Linked DNA regions of Homo sapiens: region 2 is linked to region 1. Evidence: promoter capture Hi-C in 16 types of primary human blood cells and fetal thymus (Javierre and others, 2016). All regions are on one chromosome and are shown on one strand. The core of a region is centred on a gene start or on the middle of the fragment in contact, and the rest is flanking DNA. Distances in the headings are between cores, read along the strand shown.

The links. Contacts are between HindIII fragments. The CHiCAGO score rates a contact against its expected background, and 5 or more counts as called.
Region 2: a contact is called between a fragment that was not itself captured here and the fragment with the promoter of RGSL1 in region 1, in 8 of 17 cell types (M1 macrophages, M2 macrophages, M0 macrophages and 5 more). The highest score is 15.0, in M1 macrophages.

What each region holds. Positions count from the first base shown.
Region 1 is chr1:182,446,707-182,452,725 of GRCh38, reverse strand. It overlaps RGSL1 (regulator of G protein signaling like 1), which reads right to left and starts at 2,580. Exons shown (of 22, transcript NM_001137669.2): 1 at 2,548-2,580. The coding sequence starts at 2,560. RefSeq lists an enhancer at 2,135-2,742. The HindIII fragment of the contact is 4,233 bases long and covers 1-3,327 here.
Region 2 is chr1:182,766,905-182,772,923 of GRCh38, reverse strand. No RefSeq gene overlaps it. Among named protein-coding and RNA genes, the nearest start is that of NPL, 20 kb to the left of the region's middle. The HindIII fragment of the contact is 462 bases long and covers 2,403-2,864 here.

The sequences.
Region 1 (6,019 bases), core at 1,331-3,830:
ATCCCAACACTTTGGGAGGCTGAGGCTGGTGGATTGCTTGAGGCCAGGAGCTCAAGACCAGGCTGACCAACATGATGAAACCCTGTCTCTACTAAAAATACAAAAATTAGCCAGGCATAGTGGCGGGAGCCTGTAATCCCAACTACTTGGGAGGCTGAGGCAGGAGAATCGCTTGAAGCCAGGAGGTGGAGGTTGCAGTGAGCCGAGATCGCACCACTGCACTCCAGCCTGAGTGACAGAGTGAGACTCTGTCTCAAAAAAAAAAAAAAGGAAACCCAGATAAACACTATTGTGAGTGACAGAGCTGGTATCAGCACTTGCCCTCTGTTCACATACATCTTTTTTCTTGCTGTCAAGTGCTATGTGTGTTTTATGTGTACCCCTCCCAAGCCCTCTGCTCTTCTTTTTATAAGCAGTCCTTGATTTATTTAATCTATTCCATATGGGTGATTCCAAAATCTGTGTTTTCAGTCCAGGCTTCTCTCCTTCACTCTGGTTTTAAATATACATGAGCTATGGGCCAGCTCTACATGCATATCCATCAGGCACTTTCATCTCAACATGTTCAATGTGTCCAGGCCTCCCAACCTGCTCCTTTTCCTACATTCCCAGTCCCAGTTACTGGAATTATCATTCAATAAATTATCTAATCCTGAAAACTGAGGCTCTTCTCTCTGTCTCTGTCCCTGTCTCTCACTCTCACTCTCACTCTCAATCTCTCTTACTCTTGCTCTTACTCTCTTGTTCTCTCTCTCTCCCCTCCATGTCCCTACATGCAATGGGGGATCATGCTGTATGGTTTCTCTTTGTACCTATCTCTGGAATCTGTCTTCTCCTTTCCATCCATAAAGTTACTCTTCCATTACAGGCCTCTATGCTCTCTCACCTAGACTTCTGCATCAGCTTCTTAAATGGTCTCCCTAGCTCCCACCTCTTGCCCTTCCAACCACCCTACACGTACTGCCACCATAATCTGTTGATATTATTATTGTTAAAGTCTTTCAAAATCTCCTTGATGTCCTAGAAGGTAAAGTCCAAACTCTCTAGTATAGTATCTGAGGCTTTACCCCATCTGGCTTTTGAGTTTCCTCCCAGTCTCATTTCCTGCCTCTCTGCGCACTCTGCCTCCTGTTTGCAAGCTAAGCCAAGGCATTGCTGTTTCCTGCATGTGCTAGGTACTCTCACTTGAAACCTCCATGTCTTTGTTCCCATATTCCCATTGCTTCAAATGTTTTCTTAAGCACAGTCAGCTCACAAATTAATAGTCATCCATTAAGAACTGGTTTACATATAATCTTGGTGAGCCAAGAAAGGTAGAATCTACTGCAATGGTAGAATTCATCACTATCTCCCTATACCATCACGTATATCCTCCATTATTACAATTAACAAGTCTGACTGTTTTTATCCATCGATATATCTGTCTTCCTCATCAGACTGAGCGTGTGAGAGGAGGGACTTTGTTTTTTCACCTTTCTTCCTCTAGGCTCTAAAAGTGTTTGCACAATGTCTAAGTTCTGTAAATGTGGAATAAATTGTTCTTTCAAAAGATAATCTTCAATCTTTTTTTTTTTTTTTTTTTGCCAAAGTCTCACTCCGTCACCCAGGCTGGAATGCAGTGGCAAGATCTCAACTCACTGCAGACTCTGCCTCCCAGATTCAAGTGATTCTTGTGTCTCAACCTCTCCAGTAGCTGGGATTACAGTGCATGCCACCACACCTGGCTAATTTCTGTATTTTCAGTAGAGATGGGGTTTTACCATGTTGGCCAGGCTGGTCTTGAACTCCTGACCTCAGGTAATCCACCTGCCTCAGCCTCCCAAAGTACTAGGATTACAAGGGTGAGCCAACGCTCCCAGCCAATGATTTTCAATCTTTTGGACTTTTGTTTGTTTATCATTCATAGAGTCTAACATGGATTTGTTGAATGAGTATATTACTGAGCCCATCTGAATACAGAAAAGTGGGGTTTGGCAGAAATTCCCTAGTGATTGTTGTTCACAGCTACACACACCGCTGGTGGCAAGGGGCCTGACTATGCTAGGGCTTGCCATTGCCAAAACAGTCTTAAGGAGATATAGAGACAAGGCTCTGTACATCCTTCCCTTCCTCATCCTCTCATTTCTCCATTCTTGTTTTTCCTTCTTACCTGTTCTGCCTTCAAACTTCCTAATAATTTGAGAAGGCTTTTAGCACCCATTCCACGCCATAATAATATTGACTTGGCAACAAATGAAATCACTGCATAATCTCAAACCCCATACCAGTCTTCTCTCTGGAGGAGAGGTGGCCCAATCCACATTTTACTTCCTCCCTCTTGCCTTAGTTGTCTTATGAATAAGGCCCTGTACTATCCTCAAAGATCTGGTGGCAGAAGGTAGGAGGAAGGGGAAGAAGGAGAAAGAGAAGGAAAACAAAGGCATGAATAACACAAAAGTCACCCATGGTGCCCCTGAATGGCTCAGATCTATTAACAATTGGGAAGATGAATGGTTTGCCTTATTTGAGAGACTCAAGGCCTTGGAGACATCCCTGGCAGAGACTCACCAGCACTGCTCATGTTGCCATGCTCTTCCTGACACAGTAATTTGTTAGGGGCAGAATTACCCCCCAGTCAATAGAACTATATCCATTGTGAACACGTAATGACACCTTCTCTAAGGGGTTCCAGATTCTATCTGGCAGTGATCTACTTACCTCTGGTGTAGGCCTTAATCTGAAGATAAGTCTTTATCTTACCTAATCTGCTGAATCCCCTTGGACATACAAGACTCCTCCTATACTTAAGCCTTTAGTTCATACTATTTTATTTGACAAGTTCTTTATAATTGTGCCCAAGATCTCTTGTCTGCTCCAACCTCTCCCATGCTAGGGTGACTTTTGCATTGCTAAACTCAGCTCCTAAGGGTCTTGTAAACGGTTACATTTGATGTAATTTTAATAAGCAGTAACTCCTGGATATTCTGCCCATTTAAAACATCAACCTCCATTGCTTCAGCCCAGGAATTCAAGGCTGCTGTGAGCTGTGATCACACCACTGAACTTCAGCTTGGGCAACAGAGTGAAACCTCATCTTTAAAAAATTAAAATTAAAACATCAGCTTCCAAGAGGTTTGAACTCCCTTCCTCTGAAGACTCTTCAGGCTCTTGGTTTTCTCATTAAACAACTCTTCATTTCTCCTGTTCTTCCCTAATAGGAAGTAAATATTAAGATGAGAGACCAAAAGCCCTATAATCCTTCAAACTTTAGCCAAGAATTACTGAGAATAGAATTCTTCAGTGTCACACCCAGAGAGGGCTTTTAAGTCTTGGGATTGTAGGGAAGCTTATATAATGTCCAAAAGGCTTTCCTATGGGGGGTGGAGGGAAAACTGAAAACTGGAAGGATTATTGTTAATAATGAATCGTCAATACAATATCACTTACATTTGAAAAAGTGCTGTACTTTCTTTAGAATATATAAAGACCAAATACTGCATTTTAAAGTGATTTTAGTGAGAAGAGATTCTTGCTTTACATCTTGATGTTCTATGTATTGCAAGATGAGATTGTAGCTTACCATACTTCTTCAATCTGTTATCAATTACCTTATTCACCTTATTAATTAGTCAGTTTAACATGCACACATCTTAAGAGAGTTCAGTGTGAAGCACTGCATGATTCTACAATATCATATTATTCCTTGAATTATCACCTCTTTTGCAAAATAAATAGAGTCAAGGTCTCCTCCTAAAATAATGGCATATACAGTAGTAATATATGCTCACATTCCTTAAGATGGAATGCTTTCAGACTGTTTTCAATCAAGCTGTGTGCACCTACCCTTGAGTCCTAATTGCTGCCCCACCGTCTTTCCCACAGTTCAAAAAGGCTGACTGTTGGAGCCATTAACAACCAAATAGGGTCACTCTAAAAACAGTAAAGATGAAAAGCCAGTATCACTGGCTAAATCTTGAAATGCATAATGGTTAGATCCCTGACCCTTTCATGACCTTCTAGTTCCCAAAAGAAAAGGGCACCAGATGTCTCCCAAATGTGTGGTAATAAGAATTACCTTATTGACAGGGTTGTTGTTAAAAACCTAAATTGCCGGGACCGTCCCCTGGCAATTCTGATTTAGAAGGGGTGGGGCTCAGGAGTCTGTATATTTTCCAAGTGCCCCCAGATAATTATTATCATCAGGTAAATATAGAAAATATTGGGGCCAGATGCAGTGGCTCACGTCTGTAATCCCAGCACTTTGGGAGGCCAAGGTGGGTGGATCACTTGAGGACAGGAGTTAGAGACCAGACTGGCCAACATGGGGAAACCCCTTCTCTACTAAAAATACAAAAAAATTATCCAGATGTGGTGTTGCGCACCTGTAATCCCAGCTACTCAGAAGTCTGAGGCACAAGAATTGCTTGAATCTGGGAGGCAGATTTTGCAGTGAGCTGAGATCGTGCCATTCCACCCCAGCCCGGGCAACAGAATGAGACTCTGTCTCAAAAACAAACAAACAAACAAACAAACAAACAAACAAACAAATAAATTGGTTTCTAAATGAAATAGAGCTGCATTCACATCTCAGATCTGACATTTACTAGATCTGATCTGGTTTGCAAAACTCTGGGCATCTCCTTTTCCCAAGTGCACAGTTACCCTGGAAATGACAGCAGGTCTCTTTGGCAAAGATTAAGAAGAATATTCACCGTAAATACTTGCAAAATATTACAAGATTCTTCCTAACTGGTAAAATGCTTTTTTTTTTTTTTTTAAATTTCAGAGCTTCTAGGTCTGACTCAGGGCTGAAAATTGGATGAGGGACCTGATTTTCTACCATGATGGCTCATTTTAGGCTCCTGTTCATTCACTCAACAAATATTTATTGGGCAGGTCTATGTGACACAAACTGTTCTAGGTGTTTGTGATGCAACACTGAATAAACAGTCTAAAATCCTTGCCATCACAGAGCTTATACTTTCCAGTAGAATCTTATTGAATGAACACACATTTTTTAAGGACCCCATGATCAATAACCACTATAAAGAATCTGTGGGTTAGATCATTCAGATATCCACACAGGCTCAACTGCCTATTATGATAACTACGCTTATTTTGTTTTTGATGGTTAACACGACCTCCAGTAGAAATAAGAACCAATTTCAACTACAACACATCTTTTTCAGCATTTGTGGTTGTCCCCATTGTGCCACTACTGCTAGCACCACCGCTATTGAGTGTTTGTTGTCATAGGCACTGCCATGCATAACCTCTCATTGCTCCTGAGCTTCTGAGTCTTCCTTCAAGATGAAAAGTTTTGGGCTGGTCATGGTAACTCATGCCTGTAATCCCAGCATTTTGGGAGGCTGTGGCAGGTGGATCGCTTGAGTCCAGGAGTTTGAGACCAGCCTGGGCAACATAGTAAGACCCTACCTCTATTAAAAAATGATTTTTAAAATTAAATGTGTATATATTCTATATTTAATTATATATCATATATTTAATTTTAAAGATTAAATGTATATATCATATATTTAATTTTAAAGATTAAATGTATATATCATATATTTAATTTTAAAGATTAAATGTATATATCATATATTTAATTTTAAAGATTAAATGTATATATCATATATTTAATTTTAAAGATTAAATGTATATATCATATATTTAATTTTAAAGATTAAATGTATATATCATATATTTAATTTTAAAGATTAAATGTATATATCACATATTTAATTTAAAAAATAAATGTATATATCATATATTTAATTTTAAAAATTAAATGTATATATCATATATTTAATTTTAAAAATTAAATGTATATGTCATATATATCATATATTTAATTTTAAAAATTAAATGTATATGTCATATATATCATATATTTAATTTTAAAAATTAAATGTATATGTCATATATATATTTAATTTTAAAAATTAAATGTATATGACATATATATCATATATTTAATTTTAAAAATTAAATGTACATATCATATTTAAATTTTAAAAGTGAATGTATATATCTATAT
Region 2 (6,019 bases), core at 1,384-3,883, 320 kb before region 1:
AGTTTTCTGCCTGCCTCGGCCTCCCAAAGTGCTGGGATTACAGGCATGAGCCACTGCAGCTGGCCTTGAATCAAAATCTTATAATGATATGGTGTCCTTGATTGACACCAAGTAATTCATGTCCCTGAATCCTAGCTGCAAGGGCAGCTGGAAATTTGCATTGTGAATCCTATATAACAACTCATAATTTGGATATGTCTCCAAATATAGAGAAAAGACTCAAAAGATGATAGGCTCCCATGGGTAGAATAGATGCTTACTATAATAGTAATAATAATATCTACTCTTCTGAATTTAAACTTCCTCCTGTGTTTGGAGAATGTACCATTTTTTGTCTTGTTAGATGAAGGATTTTCATTTCACAGCAGAAGCCCAAAAAATACAAGCTGCCGGTTCACTTGAAATCTCGCCAGTTAGTGTACGTACAGGAGACCTAAGCCCGGTTAAGCAGATGTTCTTGTTTTGAGTTTTATGACTGTAAGAGTGATGCAAAGAAGTAGAGACAATTCGACCATCATTCTAGTGGCAGCATTATCGATGGCTATAACAGTCAACATCTAATGTCCAGGAACAATAATGACAGCAGGGTCCAGATTCCAGTAGCTCTTCTTATCATGTGAGTGTCTTCTTCCTTGTCTGAAAATGGGTATGCCTTGCTTTGGGGGTGTGTATAACGATTAAGTGAGGATTGCATATAGGAAAGGCCTCTGAGAAACATCAAGCACCTTACACACACAGGCATTATTCTCTTCCCCTATCACAAGCACCAGCCTTGAAAACCTAGCATAATGTTTGGAGTTCCAGAAGAAAAGGAACAATCCATTTAAACGATAAAAAGAACAAATAAAATACGCATGAGGAAACAATATGACCATAATGTATTGAAAAGTTATAAGTGCAATATTACTTTAACTCATTGGGATAGAAGACAACCAAGAATGCATTTTTATTCCATCCCGATCACCTATTTGACAAGCTAGTTGTTCCACCATTATATTATCCTCAATATGCAATCAAGATATTTGCATTTCTGCTATAATATGACTTTTGAATATATTCATTTGAGACTACAGATAAGGCTGATTCAAAATTCTCTGGCATATTACAGTTATTCTTAGTTTAAAAAACAAAAAAACCCCCAAAAACCCTCAAGATACTTCATTGTCAGATCTCCGTGTGGTAGGAATGTGCAGTTGATATACTAAGATTTTTTGGCTTTTTGTTTTTTCTCCCTCCTCATGGTGTATCTTTTCAGTGTTTCCCATCTAGTACTTATGTATATGGTCAAATTTTCATTTTTGTGGCATTTGTAGTGGAGAGTGATGGCTGGAGGAATCTTGAGTCCTGTGGACCTCAGTCAGAGGTGTGCTCATAAGCAAGCTCCTGGAGACAGAGAAGAAAAGACACCCTGATTTGTAGCATTTGTCAATTACCATGAGGTAAACACTTCTACCAGGGCCAATTTCAAGGAGGTGGGAAGAGACGTGTGCAGTCAGCTCTTGCTAGGTGGGGATAGCAGCTCCAGCAGTGCACCACAGGCGGTTTGCATTTTTAACACTTGAGCCTAACATAAGAAAGTTCCTCATAGGCTGTAAGTCACACTGTGTGGGTTTACATAGTGCCTCCCAAAAGCAGATTCCTAAGCAAATTCCTAGTAAGTTTTGTCTCATGAAAGCCTCCAATTCTGTTGCCCACCCTCACTTCTTAAGAACCTGCTAATTTAAATCAAAAGGAGGCAGAGACATCCCTTTCAGCCCTCAAGTGGAGAAGATGGAAAGACCTTGTTCAGAGTGGGAACCCTTTCTGTGAATTACTGTGTGAAGGGGCCTTTCTAACAACACAGGATAAATTTTTACATTCATAGTGTGCTTCACAGTTTTCTTTGTTTCAGTCTCCATTTTATTTTATTTTATTTTATTATTTTTTTTTTTGAGATGGAGTTTCGCTCTTGTTGCCCACACTGGAGTGCAATGGCGTGATCTTGGCTCACTGCAACCTCTGCCTCCCAGGTTCAAGTGATTCTCCTGCCTCAGCCTCCCGAGTAGCTGGGATTACAGGCATGTGCCACCACACCTGGCTAATTTTGTATTTTTAGTAGAGACGGGTTTTCTCCATGTTGGTCAGGCTGGTCTTGAACTCCCGACCTCAGGTGATCTGCCCGGCTCAGCCTCCCAAAGTGCTGGGATTACAGGCATGAGCCACCACATCAGGCTGGGTCTCCATTTTAAAGAGGAGAAAGTGCGCTCATCAAATGAAGAACTGAGACTTGATTGTTCAGATTCCAAATCTGGTGGCTTCCCTGCTGCTCCATGCTGCCTTTCCAAGGTGGCTGGAGCCTTCCCTGACTCCCCCTCCTGCAATTCAACTCAGACAGGATGTTTTCTTTTCACTGCCAGTAAGCTTCTTATTTTATCATCCTTTCTTACTTTCACAAGGGGATGTTCCCTTGGCCTTCAATGAACTTGCTATTTTCAGTGTCTCCTTGGATCACTTTCTTGCCAAAACCCTTCTCTGATTGCAGATTGACCGTGACTAGCCACTGGGAGATCTCTTCTGGGAGCTGCGACATGTCCCATATCCCAGCAATGCTGGAGGGATGCACTGCTGGAGAGCTGCCTAAGGAAACTCTAAGAGTCCACTCTATAGATGACACATGCTGGGCCAAGACACTGCTGTCCCAGCAAGGATATTTATCCACTCTATTAACAGGGATAATAATGAATTTTTATGATACCAGTGATTATTGTACAGTCTCTGAGATAACTGAAAACCTTACCTTGTTTGGCTTTAGAAGCAGCCACAGAAATAGCCATTGCTCGACAGTTTCATACAAGGAGGGGAAAATACTGACTTCATGAGAAGCTTGAAAAGTTTAAATGACATTTAATTAATGATTTCATACATTAACCAAATATTTGTTGTGCATCTGCTATGTTCACAGCTCTGTTGTAAGGCTTGAAAACTCTAAAGGTAAGATGGGCTGGGTGTGGTGGCTCATGCCTGTAATCCCAGCACTGTGGGAGGCCGAGGTGGGCAGGTCATCCGAGGTCAGGAGTTCCAGACCAGCTTGGCCAACACGGTGAAACCCCATCTCTACTAAAAATACAAAAATTAGCCAGGCGTGGTGGCATGCGCCTGTAGTCTCAGCTACTCAGGAGGCTGAGGCAGGAGAATCGCTTGAACCTAGGAGGTGGAGGTTGCAGTGAGCTAAGATCACACAACTGCACTCCAGCCTGCGCGACAGAGTGAGACCCTACCTGAAAAAAAAAAAAAGGTAAAATGACTGCCTTTGTATTTCCTATAGTTCTGAGTAGTGGCAAGGGAGACATACACACTAACCTTTATAACTGAATGTGATACATATTACAGTAGAGACGAGTACAAGCATGGAGAAGGAGGTGCATAACCCTGCCCAGGGGAATGAACAAACCTTCAGGTTTCTGTGAAACTGGTGCTAGGACTTGAAAGACAATAATGACACAACTTATGTAATGCTCACTCTGTGCCAGAAGTGCCCTATTCTATGCATTTTCCGAATATTAAGCTATTTATTTTTTTCCAAAGCCCCACAAGGTTGGTGTAACCATCATCCCTATAGGAAACTGATTAACAGGGAAGTTAAATAACTTTGCCCATTGTCACTCAGTCTGGGAAATATGGAGCTGGGATTTGAATTCAACTACTAATCTCTGCACTATACAACTATGACTCACTGGGATTAAGGGGCTGGGTGAAATGGGAGGTGTGGAGGACGTTCCATGCTCAGGGAACTGTATAAAGATCTGAGAAAATATGGCATGTTTGTGGCTTTTGTTCTGAATTTCAGTGGGAAGGCAACATAGAGGGACTGATGATAAATACATGCTTCATTTTTCTTTCATCATAGGAGTTTTTCTGGAGAATATTTGGAAAATGATTTATCAACACAATTTCTTGAAATTGGAGCGTTTTCAAATGGCTGCTGTCCAGCTGGTCATCCTGTTGAGTTGTTGGCTGAGGGTTATTTTATTTGTTTTTTTTTTTGTTTGTTTGTTTTTGACATGGAGTCTTGCACTTTGGCCAAGGCTGGAGTGCAGTGGCGCGATCCCGGCTCACTGCAACCTCCGCCTCCCGGGTTCAAGCAATTCTCCTGCCTCAGCCTCCTGAGTAGCTGGGATTACAGGCGTCTGCCACCATGCCCAGCTTATTTTTTGTATTTTTATTAGAGACAGGGTTTCACTATGTTGGCCAGGCTGGTCTTGAACTCGTGACCTTGTGATCCACCCACCTCAGCCTCCCAAAGGCTGAGGGTTATTTTAAATATATCCCCAGAAGAAAGACAACAAATTTATTGATTTTCCATGATTCCCAGAATTGACTTATTCTAATGCTACCTGAGGCCAAAAGTGAAAGATTGAGTGCCACAGAAAACAGCATTTCCAGAATAATTTTTTTTGGGTATAACCATAACCTATATTCTTCATTATGGTCAAAGTTTTTGCTAATGTTGACTATTGGTCACCAAGTGGGACAGTAGACATGACTCCATGTAGCACCTTGCTAATGCCTCAGGGTATGTGAGAAGTACCTGAATGTATGTGTCTTTTTTTTTTTGAGATGGAGTCTCGCTCTGTTGCTCAGGCTGGAGTACAGTGGCATGCGATCTTGGCTCACTGCAACCTGCACTTCCCAGGTTCAAGTGATTCTCCTGCCTCAACCTTCTGAGTAGCTGGGATTACAGACGTGCATCACCACGCCCAGCTAATTTTTGTATTTTTTTAGTAGAGATGGGGTTTTGCCATGTTGGCCAGGCTGGTCTCGAACTCCTGACCTCAGGTGATCTGCCCGCCTTGGCCTCCCAAAGTGTTGGGATTACAGGTGTGAGCCACTGTGCTTGGCCTGAATATATGTGTCTTAACAGCAAAAACAAGGTGTGGCAAAATTTGGTCTGGAACAGCACCTAAATAGAGAATAATCTGGTCATTTTCTTGTATAATCTTCTGCTCTTGATGGACCAGAGGGTAAGACAATCATTCATTCATTCATTCATTCATTCAGCATTTTCTAAGTGCTTACTATAATAAAATCTAGTAATAACAGTTAACGTTTAACAGAAAGCCTACAATGTGACAGGCACTGTGCTAAACACCTTAAAATGAACGCAACTACTCCTCACTAACCCCCTGAAGTAAGAGTAACATTATCCCCAGATAAGAAAACAGGGGGATTAGGAAACTTGCTCCATGTCACATAACTGGCAGAGCTTAGTTTCCATCCCAGACAGTCTTAGCTAAGAACCTGTGCTCTCAACCACTGTGCCATGTCATTTCCCTATGTCCAAGGTTCTGAAGTAGGCCTGGTTAGGAATGCAAATAACAAACTGTAATTACAAACTGTAATTAAGTCAGAATGGAACAGACATAGAGAACTGGTTCTTAGATGTTTGCCCGCTGAAACATGTACCAGCTGATATGCTTGCATGAGATGCATTCTCTGTGGCAACACTAGCACTGTCATTGATCCACCCTTTCCCCTCCACTTTTTGCCCTAGGAAAGCATACTGAAATGCACGTAATACATGTGAGTAAGAGTGACAATATTGTAGGAATGACATTGAATCAGTACTCATTTATGAAAGTGATGTATCCTTTGCACATTTTTGTATAAGATGATAGTGGTTATAAGTCTTAGTACACAAATGAAGGCATTCAAGAAATATAACTTTTTTTTTGCTTTTATAAATCAACTTCATTTTGGCTCTGGACACCCAGCCTTTTGAGCTGGCAGGAAATTTAGTCTCTGCCATTTTGGGCTGATCTCCCTCATGCCCTGTGAACGTGTGCCAAGATCTGGGTCTTACGCAGGGCCAACATATTGTATTGCACAATTATCTACATTGATTCCACTGAGACTGCTGTGGTCTTTCACTTTCCCTTTGGCTCTTGGAACCCTGAAACCTATAAAACTGGGAGCCCTGGGCCCAGAATCCAGGTGCCCAGCTTCCCAAGGCTGCACATGACCTTTCTTCCAAGGCACCTTA